2 separate regions of the Homo sapiens genome follow, and region 2 is linked to region 1. Evidence: promoter capture Hi-C in human tissues and cell types (Jung and others, 2019). All regions are on one chromosome and are shown on one strand. The core of a region is centred on a gene start or on the middle of the fragment in contact, and the rest is flanking DNA. Distances in the headings are between cores, read along the strand shown.

Region 1 (7,904 bases), core at 1-2,500:
CAAATTCTTATTAGCACCAACTGTCACCACAAACTCATCCTTTTCTGACATACCCATTCAAAAAAACTACTAACCAAATGTCCACAATCCTGCTAAAAGTGTTGAAAAGCTCTTAGTATAGTATTAAGTGTTATCTACAAAATTTGTGATTAACCAAAACACACACAATTGTGTTCAAATGTTATATATTTGAAGAGTCAATTTAACAATTCCTTTTGGTAGACTTCTTTTGCACCTCTTTACGCTTCTTTTTTTTCCTCTTACCACCCTCTTTGACTCCTGCTGAGAAAATAGGGGGATCTCTGTTGCTGGTAACCCAAGATATACCTCCCTCATCATTGTCCACGAAAGTATATTGAGATACATGTTTGGAGCTGTGAGAATTTGGTGAATAGTTGTTGAATGACTGTGTTCTCCAGCTGCATTCTTTTGCAAAGCCCTCTTCATTGGCCACACTATTTACAAGAAAAAATGTCAACTCTCCATTATCTTCAGCTTCTCTTTCTTGATCACTTTCAATAATTTTCTTTGTATTAATATTTCTGCCATTAACGATTTTGTCTGAAGTTGTAACAGATATGTAGTTGTCCATCCCACTATTATCAAAAGCCAGGGAAGAGAAAGAAGTAAGGCCTTCATGCCCCAATGAACCCTGTGATGTATATCCTGTATCATATGAAGAAAATTTCTCAAAAATTGGATATTCACTGGCAGTGGAGAAAAAGTATCCTGCATCTCTGTTTCTGTTTCCATAGGAGCTTCCTGGACGATTTAACAGGTCCTCAAGCGAGTCTTCAAAGAAGTGAAAAGAAAATGGATCCCTTTCATGAAAAATTTCTTTAAAAACATCATCTGGCTTATGGAATGTGAAGCCGTACTCACATTCATCATCAAAATGACTTCCACCTCCGTTTAATCCTTCTGTGCCATATTTATCATAAATGTCCCGTTTCTCATCATTTGATAATACCTCGTATGCCTCAGCTACTTCTTTGAATTTTCTCTCTGCTTCTTCTTTATTTTCTGGATTTTTATCAGGGTGCCATTTAAGTGCCACTTTATGATAAGCTTTTTTAATGTCCTCAGGTGAAGCATATCTTTGCAGTCCTAGAACTTCATAGTAATCCACCATGTTTTAACAGATAGTTGGAAGTGGGTGTGCTGGGTATTGAGAACCGTGGTTTCCTCAGCTCAGGCTCTGCTGGTGGTGGTGATAGAGGTAGTGACTGCAAATAGGTACACTTTTATGTTAAAGACAATGTTATTACCATGTGCTAAGAGATGAGGATACTGATTATGTGGCAAGCAGAGTTACAAATATGTCAGAGAGGGCTGCATTATGGTGTCATTCTGGGGTCAGTGTAGGGACTGGACCTTCCAAATAGAGCTAGTCCAGAGTCGTACCAGACCATCCTGAATCCTCTGGACTGTTTCCCCTGTATGTTTCCCTGGAAGCTTCAGGCAGTGCCTCATAAGCCAATGGAATCTGTTGCTAATAGCCACAGCATATCCCTTGCATAATATGACCTCTAGATTACTGCGCCTTAATTGCTTCCCAGCTCTTCTATGCTTTGGTTTAGAAAAATGAAGTACTGACTTACGGGTGAAGAAAGTATTCAAACAGTTGACATATTTATTTCAGTCAAGAAACAGTTCAGAGGGAGATACAAACAAGTAACTTAGTTACAATATAATAGTTATGATGAGAGGAAGTACTGGATGCTAAACAATTATATGAGAGACAGCTCAGGCTGGGGGTGTCAATGAAAGCCTCTTGGAGGAAGTAGCCTGATATGTTAACTTTCTGCATGCCAGTGGTAAGTCATTTGAGATTATAGTATCTTTGTCCACCCAAGGTTTACTGCTGTAAAACATGTAATTAAAGATTTGGAAAGTTGTGTGTTTATGTATTCACTGTATAATTATTGATTGTCTACTTTGTGCCAGGCACCGTTTTAGCCACTGGTGATAGCAGTATTGAACAAAAGACACCAGTTTTCCTGGTGCTTGCATTATAATAGAATACAAATAGGAGAACAAATAAAATAATTTAAGATAATGCGATATGTGCTCCAAAAAAAATAGCAATGTGCTGGGGGCAGAGCGCTACTTTAGATTGGTTTTAGAAGGCTTCTGAGGAGATGACATTATTGCTGAGACCTATATGACAGTCAGCCACATAGTGATCTAATATGGTAGCCACTGGCCATGTTGATGGACATTTTGGTTGTTGCCAGTTGGGGCTGTTGGACATAAAGCTAGCACTTATTTCAAGTACAGTGGGAAGCCTTTGTGGGGAGTGGGGAATATGCAAGTTTAATGATGTGATTTACATTTGTAATGGATCAGTGGCTACTATTTGGAAATTCAGTCATGTATGGGAAAGTAGAATTCGAGAGCCAAATTAGAAACAGACCAAAGGTGATTTTCTTTGGGGATAAACTACCAGTAGTCTAGACCCGAATTTAAAGGTCTTATATTCTATACCTGGCTCATTTTATTGTCTGAGAAAATTCCCTGTAATCTTTGTTTTTCCTCCTCTATGTTGTGTTTATTTTATTTTCCATCACATTTATAACCCCTCAGTTAAATGATACGCTAATGAAATCTAAAACTGTAGTGTATGCTTCTAGTCTTTCAAGACCATTTGTCAGGTCTGAATATTTTTTTGCTTTGCATTTTTATATATACTCATTTTTTAGAGGTATTGTGAAATGCTTAAAACTCAATTTAAATTCTCTCCAGTGTATGTGCTTACATGTACTTATGTGTGGCTTACCCATGATTATAATTTGCCTACCACTGGAAATAATAACCAATAATGTCGAAAATTATTTGAGTACCCTCTGAGTCACACTGTAGCAAGTGCTCATTTAACTGACACAGCACTCTAGCAAAATAAATATTTTATGCCCATAAGAAAACAGACGTTCTGAGAGAGAAAGTAATTTGTCTAAGGCTACATAGCTTGTTAGTGAAAAATCTGATTTTTAAACTTGAGTCTAATTTCAAGTTCTCATTCCACTCTACTGCATTTCTCGGACTAGGACTTAAAGAGTTTAGGTTCTAGGCATTCCACAAACAGATACTGAGAACCTGCTGTTACCGGAAAGGGGTCCCAATCCAGACCCCAAGAGATGGTTCTTGGATCTCGTGCAAGAAAGAATTTCAGTGGAATCCACAGAGTAAAGTAAAAGCAAGTTTATTAAGAAAGTAAAGGAATAAAGAATGGCTACTCCATAGGCAGAGCAGCCCCAAGGGCTGCTGGTTGCCCATTTTTATGGTTATTTCTTGATTATATCCTAAACAGGAAGTGGATTATTCATGCTTCCCCATTTCAGACCATATAGGGTAACTTCCTGACGTTGCCATGGCATCTGTAAACTCTTGGGGTGCTGGTGGGAGTGTAGCAGTGAGGACAATCAGAGGTTACTGTCATTGCCATCTTAGTTTTAGTGGGGTTTGGCCAGCTCCTTTTTTTAAGAACATCACAGGTAAAGCTCACAGGAAGGTGACAGTCTAGGAGAAGATGTTCGCAGTGTCTAAATTTGACAGGGACTTATTTTATTTTCATTATTATTGTTACTATTATTATTATTTGAGGTGGAGTTTCGCTCTTATTGCCCAGGCTGGAGTGCAATGGTGGGGTCTTGGCTCACTGCAACATCTACCTCCCGGGTTCAAGCCATTCTCCTGCCTCAGCCCGCTGAGTAGCTGGGATTACAGGCATGCACCACCACGCCCGGCTAATTTTGTATTTTTAGTAGAGAGGGGGTTTCTCCATGTTGGTCAGGCTGATCTCGAACTCCCAACCTCAGGTGATCTGCCCGCCTCAGCCTCCCAAAGCGCTGGGATTACAGGCATGAGCCACCGCACCCAGCTGGTCAGCTTCTTTACTATAACCTACCTGTTTTATTAGCAGGGTTTTTGTGTCCTGCATTTTGTGCTGACTTCCTATTTCATTCTGTGATTAAGACTGCCTTAACTTACTGGGAATGTAGCCCAGTAGGTCTTAGCCTTATTTTACCAAACCCCTACTGAAGATGGAGTTGCTCTGGTTCAAACGCCTCTGACACTATGATACAGAGAAAAGGTAGAAAATAGGAAATTCTGCTCTTAAGAAATTCATATAGTTTGAAAAAACTAATTTCAGTGGAGTGTAAAGTTATAATACGAGCACTTGTTTCTGCAGTTATACCCTTCTTTGTTGATCCTTTGCCTCCCAGCCATCCGCTGTGCCATTTTCTCTGCCTCTTCACAACAAAACTTATCCAGAGTATTGTCTCAGTGTCTTTGCTTTCTTACATCCTATTCCCTCCTTGGCATACTCCAATCTGTCTTCTGTCTTCTTTACTCTGCTAAAATCGCCAGGGTCTCCAGTGATTGATGTTACCATATCCAGTGGTTGTCCTTTTGGCTTCCTTGTATTTTGAAGCACTTGCCACACTGTGAGCCCTCCTCACTTTTTTTTTTTTTTTTTTTTGAGATGGAGTTTCACTCTCGTTGCCCAGGCTAGAGTACAGTGGTGTGATCTCGGCTCACTGCAACCTCTACTTCCCAGGTTCAAGCCATTCTCCTGCTTCAGCCTCCCGAGTAGCTGGGATTACAGGCATGTGCCACCATGCCTGGCTAATTTTGTATTTTTAGTAGAGACAGGGTTTCTCCATGTTGGTCAGGCTGGTCTCGAACTCCCGACCTCAGGTGATCCACTTGCCTCGGCCTCCCAAAGTGCTGGGATTACAGGTGTGAGCCACTGCGCCTGGCATAGTCCTCCCCACTTCTTAAAACACTTGTTTTTTAACTTCCTAAATACCACACTCTTTTTTTGTGGGGGGCGGGGGGGCAGCGGGTAGAGACAGGGTTTAGCCATGTTGGCCAGGCTGGTCCCGAACTCCTGGCCTCAAGTGATCTGTCTGCCTGCCTCGGCCTCCCAAAGTGCTGGGATTACAAGCATGAGCCACCATGCCCAGCACTAAATACTGTACTCTTCTAGTTTTCCTTCTTTCTCCTGTGCTCTTTCTCACACTAAAATATTACAGTGCCAGGCTTTGTTCAGTCTCCCTGGGTAATACCCATTCCCAGGGCTTTAGATGCCATCTGTGTGCTTATAACACCCTAATTTATATATCTAGCCTAGCACTTTTCTCCCTGAAATTAAGATTGCTCTTTGACCTCTCCATTAAATTTATTTCCAATAAATATCTCAGGCTTTCCTGTTGCATGTAGTGGTACAACCATTTATTCACTTGTTCAAGTCAAAAATCAAGAATTATTCTTAATTCCTCTTTTTTCTTTATTTCTTATGTCCAATTAGAAGCCAGACTCATTGACTTTTAACTTCAAAATACATTTCAAATCAAGTCACTGGGAAAATAAAGTCAAATAACAAGTGATCTCTGCTTCCAAAGATTGTTCATAGTAGACTGGCAAACTAATTAGCAATTATGTGAAGTGTAGTAGGTATTAAAATAGAAATCATAGGAGCGTTGGGGAAGACATCTGAAACAAGCAGAACAGAGGCAGTAGGTGTGAGAAGAGTAAGAGAAGTCTCTTGCGTAAGTGATGTTTGAGCTGGTATTTTTTAGAATTTCTGTAATCGTATAAGCAGGCAGTGTCCACTTTAGACTAAGAGAACTATATTTTTTAATGCAAATGCTATTATGATGCAGAATGATTTAGCCGGGGTTCTTCAAGTAGCTTAGTGTGGCTGCAATAATGTTTTTTGAGGATTAGGTCAGATAAGGGAGCAGGATCCAAATCATGAAGTTTCCTAAGCAAAAGAGTTTGAAGCTTATGAACTGGATATTTTTGAAATAGGACTTAACACACCAGCTTTGCTACTAATTATATGACTTCGGGCAAAAGATGTTTAATGTAAGTAAAAAGCTATTGAGACCTTTTTTAAAAATTTACTGGGAATAAACATCTTAATTTATGTCTCCTGTTAAAGTGTTACTTGTTTGCTTTGAATTTAATAAAGTTAAGCTCCCTCTGCTTGAGAGTGGTCCAAAATATGCTAGGATTATTTCATATGAGCATTGAAAAAGGAATCAGTTAACTTTTTATATTCTGAAATTTTACTGCCTAATGAGATTACAGAAGACACTATGTGTGCATGAGTACGTGTGCACGAGCGTGCATGTGGAGAAGGTGCAGGAGGAGAGAAAGAGAAATCACCAATGCAACAGCAGCCTACTCCACCAGTGGGTTAGTGCTGCTGGAGGGAGATGAAAAGATTAGGAAGGTAAGATAGCTTTGAAGGCTTTGTATTCTAAATTAAGGAGTTAGATTTTTAACTGTCACGTGAGGTAGGCATTATCATCATTATTTTACAAACACAGAATCAGACTCAGAGAAGTAATCTGGACAAGGTTACACACTTAGTACCAGAGAAGCTGAGATTCAAACTCAGGTTTATTTGACTTCATAATCTTTGCTCTTATCCCTCCCCCTTGCCGCTCACTAGGTCCTCTCTGTTTAATCTCAACAATCAATACTGTACAATCTCCTTGTGAACATACAATTTCTGTAAGGACTATGAATTATGAATAATAATATATGTATTTGGGAGAGAAGAGTCTTAAAAGTTAATTCCAGTTTGTAGAAGATTGTTTAGAAAAATCATAGCTTCTTCTAAAAAGATTTAAAAAAAAGAAAAATCATAGCTTCTAAGATGATTACAAAGAAATTGGTGTGGGTTTCCAACCTGGGCAACATAGTGAGACCTCATCTCTACCAAAAATAAAAAAAATTAACCAGTCTTGGTGGCACATACCTGTAGTCCCAGCTACTTGGGAGGCTGAGCCACTGACTCCAGCCTGGGCAACAGAGTGAGACTCTGTCTTAAAAATAAATAAATGAATAAATATTGAAGGAGAGAAGGAAGGAAATATTAGTTTGCATTTTTCTAAAGCATCCAAACTGTTGGAGATGGATAAGTGCATTTATACCATGAAGACTTTCTAGATCTATTGTTTCATTTCATTTATTGCCTAAGCCCAGAGGAACAAAGCTGCAGTGAGCTATGATCATGCCACTACACTCCAGCCTGGGCGACAGAGTGAGACCTGTCTCAAAAAAAAAAAAAAAAAACCCAACAAACAAAACTCCTTATGTGTGAATCCACTGTTGCATTCACCATTTAATATTGTAATGCTCTATTTTGTCTCACCTCCACTAGACTGTGCATTCTTTAAAGACCACAGCATATAGCCTTGTCATTCATGTGTCTTTCTTTGAGCATGTTCCAATCATGTGCAAAGAATTTTTTAATTAATGCTAATAACTAACATTTGTTGTACTCTATGATTAAGCATTTTTCATAAATTATTTTATCTAGCTCTGACATTCCAAGATTAAATGAGATAGCATGTGCATATTTTCTCATGCTTAACATATTCTCAATAAAAAATGTTGATTATCTTTTCCTGAGTTTTAGGACACAGCTTTATGCTATCTCTGTGATACCCTTTCAAACTGCCTCTGTGATATCCTTCCCCTGCCTTTTTTGGTTCCTTTCTTCTGTTTTCATAGCTCCTTATTCATACCTTTATTATATATGTGTGCGTGTGTGTGTGTGTGTGTGTGTGTGTATGTGTATAAAATATTATAGCAGACAAATGTCTCTGAGGGTAAAGATCTCATTTCTGTTTTCCTAAGGCCCAACACAGAGTCTGACACAGAGCAAAGGCCATATAAATATTGAAGGAGGGCCAGGTGCAGTGGCTCATGCCTGTAATCCCAACACTTTGGGAGGCCGAGGTGGGCGGATCACTTGAGGTCAAGAGTTCGAGACCAGCCTGGCCAACAGGATTAAACCCCGTCTCTACAAAAATTAGCCAGACATGGTGGCACGCACCTGTAATCCCAGCTATGTAGGAGGCTTGAGGCAGGAGAATCACTTG
Region 2 (7,904 bases), core at 3,099-5,598, 1.3 Mb before region 1:
TTCCCGATTCTCTAGATGGCCGATCTAGAGAAGTCCCGCCTCATAAGTGGAAGGATGAAATTCTCAGAACAGCTAACCTCTAATGGGAGTTGGCTTCTGATTCTCATTCAGGCTTCTCACGGCATTCAGCAGCAGCGTTGCTGTAACCGACAAAGACACCTTCGAATTAAGCACATTCCTCGATTCCAGCAAAGCACCGCAACATGACCGAAATGAGCTTCCTGAGCAGCGAGGTGTTGGTGGGGGACTTGATGTCCCCCTTCGACCAGTCGGGTTTGGGGGCTGAAGAAAGCCTAGGTCTCTTAGATGATTACCTGGAGGTGGCCAAGCACTTCAAACCTCATGGGTTCTCCAGCGACAAGGCTAAGGCGGGCTCCTCCGAATGGCTGGCTGTGGATGGGTTGGTCAGTCCCTCCAACAACAGCAAGGGTGAGTGGGCCACCACCACATCGTCCTGGTGGGATCTAGGGTTAGGGGCCTCCTACCTTTGTATCTGACTCACTTGGCCCCATCACTCAAATGTTTTGCAGAGGATGCCTTCTCCGGGACAGATTGGATGTTGGAGAAAATGGATTTGAAGGAGTTCGACTTGGATGCCCTGTTGGGTATAGATGACCTGGAAACCATGCCAGATGACCTTCTGACCACGTTGGATGACACTTGTGATCTCTTTGCCCCCCTAGTCCAGGAGACTAATAAGCAGCCCCCCCAGACGGTGAACCCAATTGGCCATCTCCCAGAAAGTTTAACAAAACCCGACCAGGTTGCCCCCTTCACCTTCTTACAACCTCTTCCCCTTTCCCCAGGGGTCCTGTCCTCCACTCCAGATCATTCCTTTAGTTTAGAGCTGGGCAGTGAAGTGGATATCACTGAAGGAGATAGGAAGCCAGACTACACTGCTTACGTTGCCATGATCCCTCAGTGCATAAAGGAGGAAGACACCCCTTCAGATAATGATAGTGGCATCTGTATGAGCCCAGAGTCCTATCTGGGGTCTCCTCAGCACAGCCCCTCTACCAGGGGCTCTCCAAATAGGAGCCTCCCATCTCCAGGTGTTCTCTGTGGGTCTGCCCGTCCCAAACCTTACGATCCTCCTGGAGAGAAGATGGTAGCAGCAAAAGTAAAGGGTGAGAAACTGGATAAGAAGCTGAAAAAAATGGAGCAAAACAAGACAGCAGCCACTAGGTACCGCCAGAAGAAGAGGGCGGAGCAGGAGGCTCTTACTGGTGAGTGCAAAGAGCTGGAAAAGAAGAACGAGGCTCTAAAAGAGAGGGCGGATTCCCTGGCCAAGGAGATCCAGTACCTGAAAGATTTGATAGAAGAGGTCCGCAAGGCAAGGGGGAAGAAAAGGGTCCCCTAGTTGAGGATAGTCAGGAGCGTCAATGTGCTTGTACATAGAGTGCTGTAGCTGTGTGTTCCAATAAATTATTTTGTAGGGAAAGTACTTGTGCGTTTGAATTCCTTTCCTGGCAAAGTAACCGAGTGAAGCGCCACCCACCCACCCCAAGCTGGTCTTAACATTTCCTGTGAGATCTGGGGGAGGAGGCAGTCCAAGGCTGAAGATCGGTTCCCAGAGTGGGATTTGCTCATCCCTGCTCGGTGTAGGCCACGATGGCTGATTCATGGGGCCCTGGAGCCGTATAGTTGGCCATTTATAGTAAGCTGGGTCCTTTGCCCAGAGCTGAGTGCTGGTTGTGTAGGGGGAGGAGGCTGGAGATCTCTGGGAGATTCAGAGGGAGGGACAGCCTGGGCCTCCACCTGTTTATTCAAGAGGGCTTCATGCCAACAGCTGTCGCATAAAACCCTGAATAAGGTTGCACGGTCTTTGAGATAGCACACAAGATTAGGTTTCACTTGTTACCTGAACAGTTCTGCAGAAGCCTCATCCTGAAGAAAGAAATGGCTCCTTTTGGGAATTGATGCTGAAACAGGACAGGAGCTGAGGGTTGGCCTCCGTTTCTCCTTACGGGGTGGAAGGATGACAGCCTGCGCAGGTTCTGGCTAGAGCTGGGCACAAAGGCAGGCAACAGTTCCTGTGAAGGCTGTTGTGCCTGCTGCTATCTAAACTAGGAGGCCTGACGGCCTCGGGACATGTTAGGATGGATCAGTGCTTAGAAGCCACACCTCACTGCAGCTTCGGACTTCTGGCGGGGCGACTTCGCCTTTCCAGGCAGGCGATGTCTTTTGTCCTGTGTTGCGGATGAATGCTTGAATGCAAAGATCAGCGCAGCCCGGGTAGGTCTGCCCTTCCTCTTGTGTCCTTCGGGATTAGCCTCGTTTTCCGTCTGTGGAAGGTGGTGTAGACCGGGTGTGCCTGGGGAATGGCTGGGAGGAGAGTGAGAGTGAGTGCAGCCCAGGCACTGCTGTAACTGAGCACAGCACATGTGTTCTTTCACCCAGTCCCCGCAGCACACCCGTGAGGCAGACGCCACACCCAGGAGGAATTTTTTTTTTTTGAGATGGAGTCTGGCTCTGTCGCCCAGGCTGGAGTGCAGTGGCGCGATCGCGGCTCACTGCAAGCTCCGCTTCCCGGGTTCACGCCATTCTCCTGCCTCAGCCTGCCGGGTAGCTGGGACTACAGGCGCCTGCCACCACGCCCAGCTAATTATTTTTGTATTTTTAGTAGAGAGGGGGTTTCACCGTGTTAGCCAGGATGGTCTTGATCTCCATCTCCTGACTTCGTGATCCGCCCGCCTCGGCCTCCCAAAGTGCTGGGATTACAGGCGTGAGCCACCGCCACCGCGCCCGGCCTTTTTTTTTTTTTTTTTTTTTTTTTTTGAGACAGGGTCTCTCCGTTGTCCAGGCTAGAGTGCAATGGTGCATTCTCGGGTCACCACAACCTCCACCTCCCGGATTCCAACGATTCTCCTGCCTCCGCCTCCTGAGTAGCTGGGATTACAGACGCCCGCCACCACGCCCAGCTCACCTAGGAGGATTTTGAGCAAAGAGGTAGAGCTGGGATTTGAACCCAGGACGGCTCCAGTCTGGGCTCTTCATTTTGCCTCTTGAGCTGGAAACAAATGGCCCGTAACGACCTGCATGGTGGGGCCCACGTGACCTTTCTGGTGCCCAGCATAGACTGTCACCTGAGAGCCAACTGTTGATGGAATGCATGCAGCTGGTTGTGGAGAAGTGGCCCGAGGCACCACTGGGAGTGGGCATCACACATGGGTCTTGGACCTGGTGCTCTTTGAGGTCTTTCCTGTTGAGATTCTAGAATTCTCCAAAGGCCATGGGCCTCCATCCACATCCAGGTACTAAATAGGTGTTAGGGTGTGGCCAGGAGCATCAGAGTCATCCAGTGCCAGTGGGGGTCGGCCCTCATTTGGCAGACGAGAAACTGAGGCACCAAGAAGGGCAGTGCAGGCCAGTGGTGTGGAGCCAGGATGCTGGGGCTGTGCCCTTCCCAGGCCCCTGCAGCTAAGTCCTCCCACACCCAGAAGGCACCAGCTCAGGTCACAGTGGATTTGCCCTTCTCCCTGACCTCACCTCCTCCCCTCACTGTGCTCCCGGCCTCTCTCCATCTGTCTGCCAAGCTTGGTCCTGCCTCAGAGCCTTGCACTTGCTGTTTTTTTGTAACTTTTTTCTCCATTGAGTTTATCTGTATACAGATGAACTTTCTGTTCTCCATTCCCTAACTACAATATAAGCTCACTCTATGGCAGCAGGTATTTTGCTGTCTTGTTCATTCCCGTATTTCCAGGACTTACAGCAGTGCCTGGGAAATAGCAAAAATGACTGCAGCGAAAATGTTCAAAGAGCTCTGAGGTTCTAGGCGCCTTCCAGTGATGAGCTCAGAGTCCTCCTGAGAGGCTGTGAGGAGGGTCTTATGACTGTAACCCTCTTACTGATGCAGCTAAGACCCAGACTTAGGCACCCCCTTGGGAAGTCTGGCCTATGGGTGGACACTGGCCCATGGGCAGGTGGTATAGGCAGTGATAGTGGCCTGGACAGACCGGCTGGATTTGGCTAGGCAGATATCTGTTCCGGAGAGCCCAGCACAATAAGGGGTACGGGAAGAGGGGGCAGAGATGAAGTTGATGTCTGGCCACCACCCTGCATGTGGCAACTTGTGGCCCCTGCCAGGCCTTGGCCAGCCCAGCCTAGGCTGACCAGGTCAGAGGTGGAGCTGGGCTTTACCCAGTGACCAGGGGCCCGGGGCTGGGGGATAGGAAGGGACCTCACAGGCGGGAGCAGACAGCACTCAGCATTTTCTCCTGCTTTGTGTCTGGGACAAGGCTGTAGGTTGTGGAGAGCAGAGAACGACCTTCATCTTTTCTACAACTAGTCCTGAGTGGGTGCCTGCTCTGCACTACACTGTCTGGGTGCTGGCTACAGCAGTGAGCCAAATAGATAAACATCCCTGCCCTCATGGAGCTTTGCTTCTGGTAAAGGAGACAGGTGGACCCTAAAAAGAAGAAAGAGGTGACGTGTCACATTCAGATGTGACACAGCAGCTGGGTAGGGCTTGGACATGCTGGGCATGCTCCTTAAGACTGGTGCTTAGGGAGTTGCAGGGGTCAGCCCGGCAGGGGACTGGGCTGGGATTGGCAAGGAGAGGCGGCCAGGATATGGGTGTGAAGAGAGGGAACCCCCCCGCTGCCAAACAAGAGAAAGGATGGAGGGCCCATTTCCTGAGATGGGGAAAACCATGGGAAGAGCATGATTTTATTTCAAAGAGGCCAGGGAGAAATAAAAAGTCCCTGGCTTTGGGAGGCCAAGGCAGGTGGATCACAAGGTCAGGAGTTCAAGAACAGCCTGCCCAATATGGTGAAACCCCTATCTCTACTAAAAAATTAGCTGGGCATGGCGGCACGTGCCTGTAATCCCAGCTACTCGGGAGGCTGAGGCAGGAGAATCGTTTGAACCCAGGAGGCAGAGGTTGCAGTGAGCCAAGATCACGCCACTGCACTCCAACCTGAGTGACAGAGTAAGACTCCCATCTCAAAAAAAAAAAAGAAAAAAGAAAAAGCCCTTGCAGTGACACTCAAGTGCCAACCACCCTTGCCCAGGTGCCCCATGAGGTGGGGTGGGGGCTCTCAGCCTAGTTGGGAAACGGAAGGTGGATGCTTAGACCAAGTAGAAAGTGGCAGCTTCAGAAGAGAGAGCAGGGCCTCCCAGCTGGGCTTTGAGGGGTGGGGAGAGTTGTGGACAGAGAATGAGAACACCCCATGAAAGTCAGCCGGGCAGGCTGGGCGCGGTGGCTCACGCCTGTAATCCCAGCACTTTTGGAGGCCGAGGTGGGCGGATCACGAGGTCAGGAGATCGAGACCATCCTGGCTAACATGGTGAAACCCCGTCTCTACTAAAAATACAAAAAAAATTAGGTGTGGTGGTGGGTGCCTGTGGTCCCAGCTACTCAGGAGGCTGAGGCAGGAGAATGGCTTGAACCCAGGAGGCGGAGCTTGCAGTGAGCTGAGATGGCGCCACTGCACTCCAGCCTGGGGGACAGAGCGAAACTCCGTCTCAAAAAAAAAAAAAAAAAAAAAAAAGTCAGCCTGGCAGGAAAGAATGGGGCACACACCAAGTGCCACAGTCCCACTGCCTGTGGCGGAGGCCTTTGCCCAGGCTAAGCTCTGAGCCTGCAGCTGGGCCTCAGCAGAGTCCCATGTTGCAGTCCTGGCCCACTCCTGCCTGGCCCCCTTGGCCAACTCCTCTAGTAGCAAAGAGGGCCAGAGAGTGTGGGGGCTTGAGCAGCCCATCCCACTGTGGAAGACACAGGAAGCCATGGCTGGGGCCCTCCTCTGGGTCATGGGGTGGCTTCCTCAAACCCTGCTTCCCCAAACCACCTGTGACGCTTCCGGTGCTTTCATACCCATCCATGATGTCTAGACTGAGGGAGGCCTCCTGCTTTGTCCTGTCGGCCCTGGGTTGAAGTGACAACTCAGTGTCCTCTTTTTTTGAGACAGGGTCTTGCTGTCACCCAGGCTGAGGTGCAGTAACGCCATCTTGGCTCACTGCAGCCTCTGCCTCTCGGGTCCCAGTGATCTTCCCACCCCAGCCCTTTTCCCCACAAGCAGCTGGGACCATGAGTGCACACCACCATGCCCAGCTAATTATTGTATTTTTTTTGTAGAGATGGAATTTTGCCATGTTGGCCAGGCTGGTCTTGAATTCCTGACCTCAGGTGATCCACCTGCCTCAGCCTCCCACAGTGCTGGGATTACATGTGTGAACCACTATGTCTGGCCTCAGTGTCCTCTTATTTGGGCCCTGTTGGTCACCAGGTCCTGGCCATCACAGCACCTCTTCGGCCCCCCATGGGGACAAACCCTCTCTCCTCCAGTGCTACCCCAGTCACCCCAGCTCCCTGCTGCCTTCCAGACAGCTGCACCAGAACTGCTCAGGGTGACAGTTAAAAGGCAGACTCCTCAGTGTCCTGTCCTTGACCCACTGGACCAGAGTGCCAGCAGTAAACACAAATGACTGTCACCCAGAGGGGCATGGACAGGCACCCAATAGTGTTATTTGGCATTAAGTGTAAGATTTATGGGGAAGCTCACAAGTGGGGAAGCAGCAGGACCCTGGCTCCCATCCTCCTCGTGGGACAGTGCCTGTCACTCTGCACTCTACACAGGGAGGGAGCAGGAAGAACACCTGGGCGATTATGTAACAGTGGGCGTGTTCTTGTTAGAAAGGGGCCCTGGGCCTATGGTCAGCCTGTTCTTCCAGGCGCTAGAGGCTGAGTTGGCTTTTTGTTAAGCCGCTTAAAATATTAAGGCCACTAGTCTCCACGGATATCCAAGTTTCTCTGCCCAGTGGGGTCATTACAGCCCAGCAGGCAGGAAGAGGCCCTGGTCTCTAAGGTTTGGGGTCACAGCACACTCCCTCCCCATCCCCCTGCTGATGGAGGTCGCCTGGAGACAGGACCTGACTCCAGCTCTGCCCCCGGAAGATGTGTGGCCCCCTCATGTCCTCATTTAGGATGGAACACGGTTAAAGACCAGGAACAGACCACCCAGGGCAGTGGGGGAGCAAGTGCTGTTACAAATAACAGGCCCGAAGGCAATGTCGTCAGGGAACCCAGGGAGCCAGATGTCACTCCCATCAAACCCAGCCTCAGGGGACTGCCAGGCTCTCGACCAGCAGCAATGGGAGTCACCACAGCAAAGGAGCCCTTAGGCTATGGTGGGGAGGAGAGAGTTTAGGAGACAAAAGCAGCTGCCTGAAGGCTTCCCAGGTCCCTTCCCCTCAGGCCCCCTGATGAAAGACTCCTGGGCTCTCACTTCTCACCTCTCCTCCGCTGGCCCTGCCTCCGCTTCCGCCTCCTGTCTTCACTCACACAGTCATTCAGTGCCTGCCTGTCCTTCACCTCCTGATCCCACCCCATGCCTGCTGGAAGGGTCCCGCCTGCCTCCCCTCGCCTCCATCCTTCAGCTCAGGCACACCTGAGTGTGAAACCGTTTCTTCAGGTTACCTCCTGAGTCCTCTCTACTGTCCCCTCCCCACTATGACAGGCATTTGACCCCACCTGGCTGCTCACCAGAGCATGAGCCAGAAAAGGAACACACCGGGTGAAATGCTCCGCTCATGGCGGACTCCACGCTCCCCGGGCGCAGGCGGAAGTAGCAACACTCCCACTGCCGGACCCAGCCACCTGCACTGGAACTGCTCCCAGCAGCTATTTTTGCCTCAAGAGTCACCTTTTCAGCTGTGGTGGCCATCCCCAGAGGAGGGAGGCGCCCCTGGCAGCAGAGGTGGGTGTTCTGATGGCTGCCTGCCGGGGCTGGACTGGAGGACTTGTGACCCGGAGCTCAGAAGCACGCTGGGAGATGGGGAAGGCAGCGTGGCGCTTTGGTGCCACAGGAGATGGGAGACACCCTGTGGGGCAGACCAGCAGCAAACACAGCTCTTGGGTTCACATTTATTGTAACTTGGAAGCCCACCCTTCTTCCTACTCCTGG

Evidence for each region. Contacts are between HindIII fragments. The study calls those that stand out against the background at their distance.
Region 2: a contact is called between a fragment that was not itself captured here and the fragment with the promoter of DNAJB7 in region 1, in 1 of the 25 tissues and cell types used here (dorsolateral prefrontal cortex).

Annotation. Positions count from the first base shown.
Region 1 is chr22:40,860,863-40,868,766 of GRCh38, forward strand. DNAJB7 (DnaJ heat shock protein family (Hsp40) member B7) reads right to left here and starts at 1,251. Exons shown (of 1, transcript NM_145174.2): 1 at 1-1,251. The coding sequence starts at 1,132. The coding sequence ends at 203. The region is part of intron 1 of XPNPEP3 (X-prolyl aminopeptidase 3); the gene reads left to right. The HindIII fragment of the contact is 4,259 bases long and covers 1-3,622 here.
Region 2 is chr22:39,521,243-39,529,146 of GRCh38, forward strand. It overlaps ATF4 (activating transcription factor 4), which reads left to right. Exons shown (of 3, transcript NM_182810.3): 2 at 112-429; 3 at 531-1,441. The coding sequence starts at 204. The coding sequence ends at 1,360. RPS19BP1 (ribosomal protein S19 binding protein 1) reads right to left here. Exons shown (of 4, transcript NM_194326.4): 4 at 7,851-7,904. Among named protein-coding and RNA genes, the nearest start is that of ATF4, 4.6 kb to the left of the region's middle. RefSeq lists enhancers at 1,678-1,727, 1,804-2,305, 3,179-3,228, 3,329-3,378, 5,841-6,050 and 4 more. The HindIII fragment of the contact is 7,295 bases long and covers 702-7,904 here.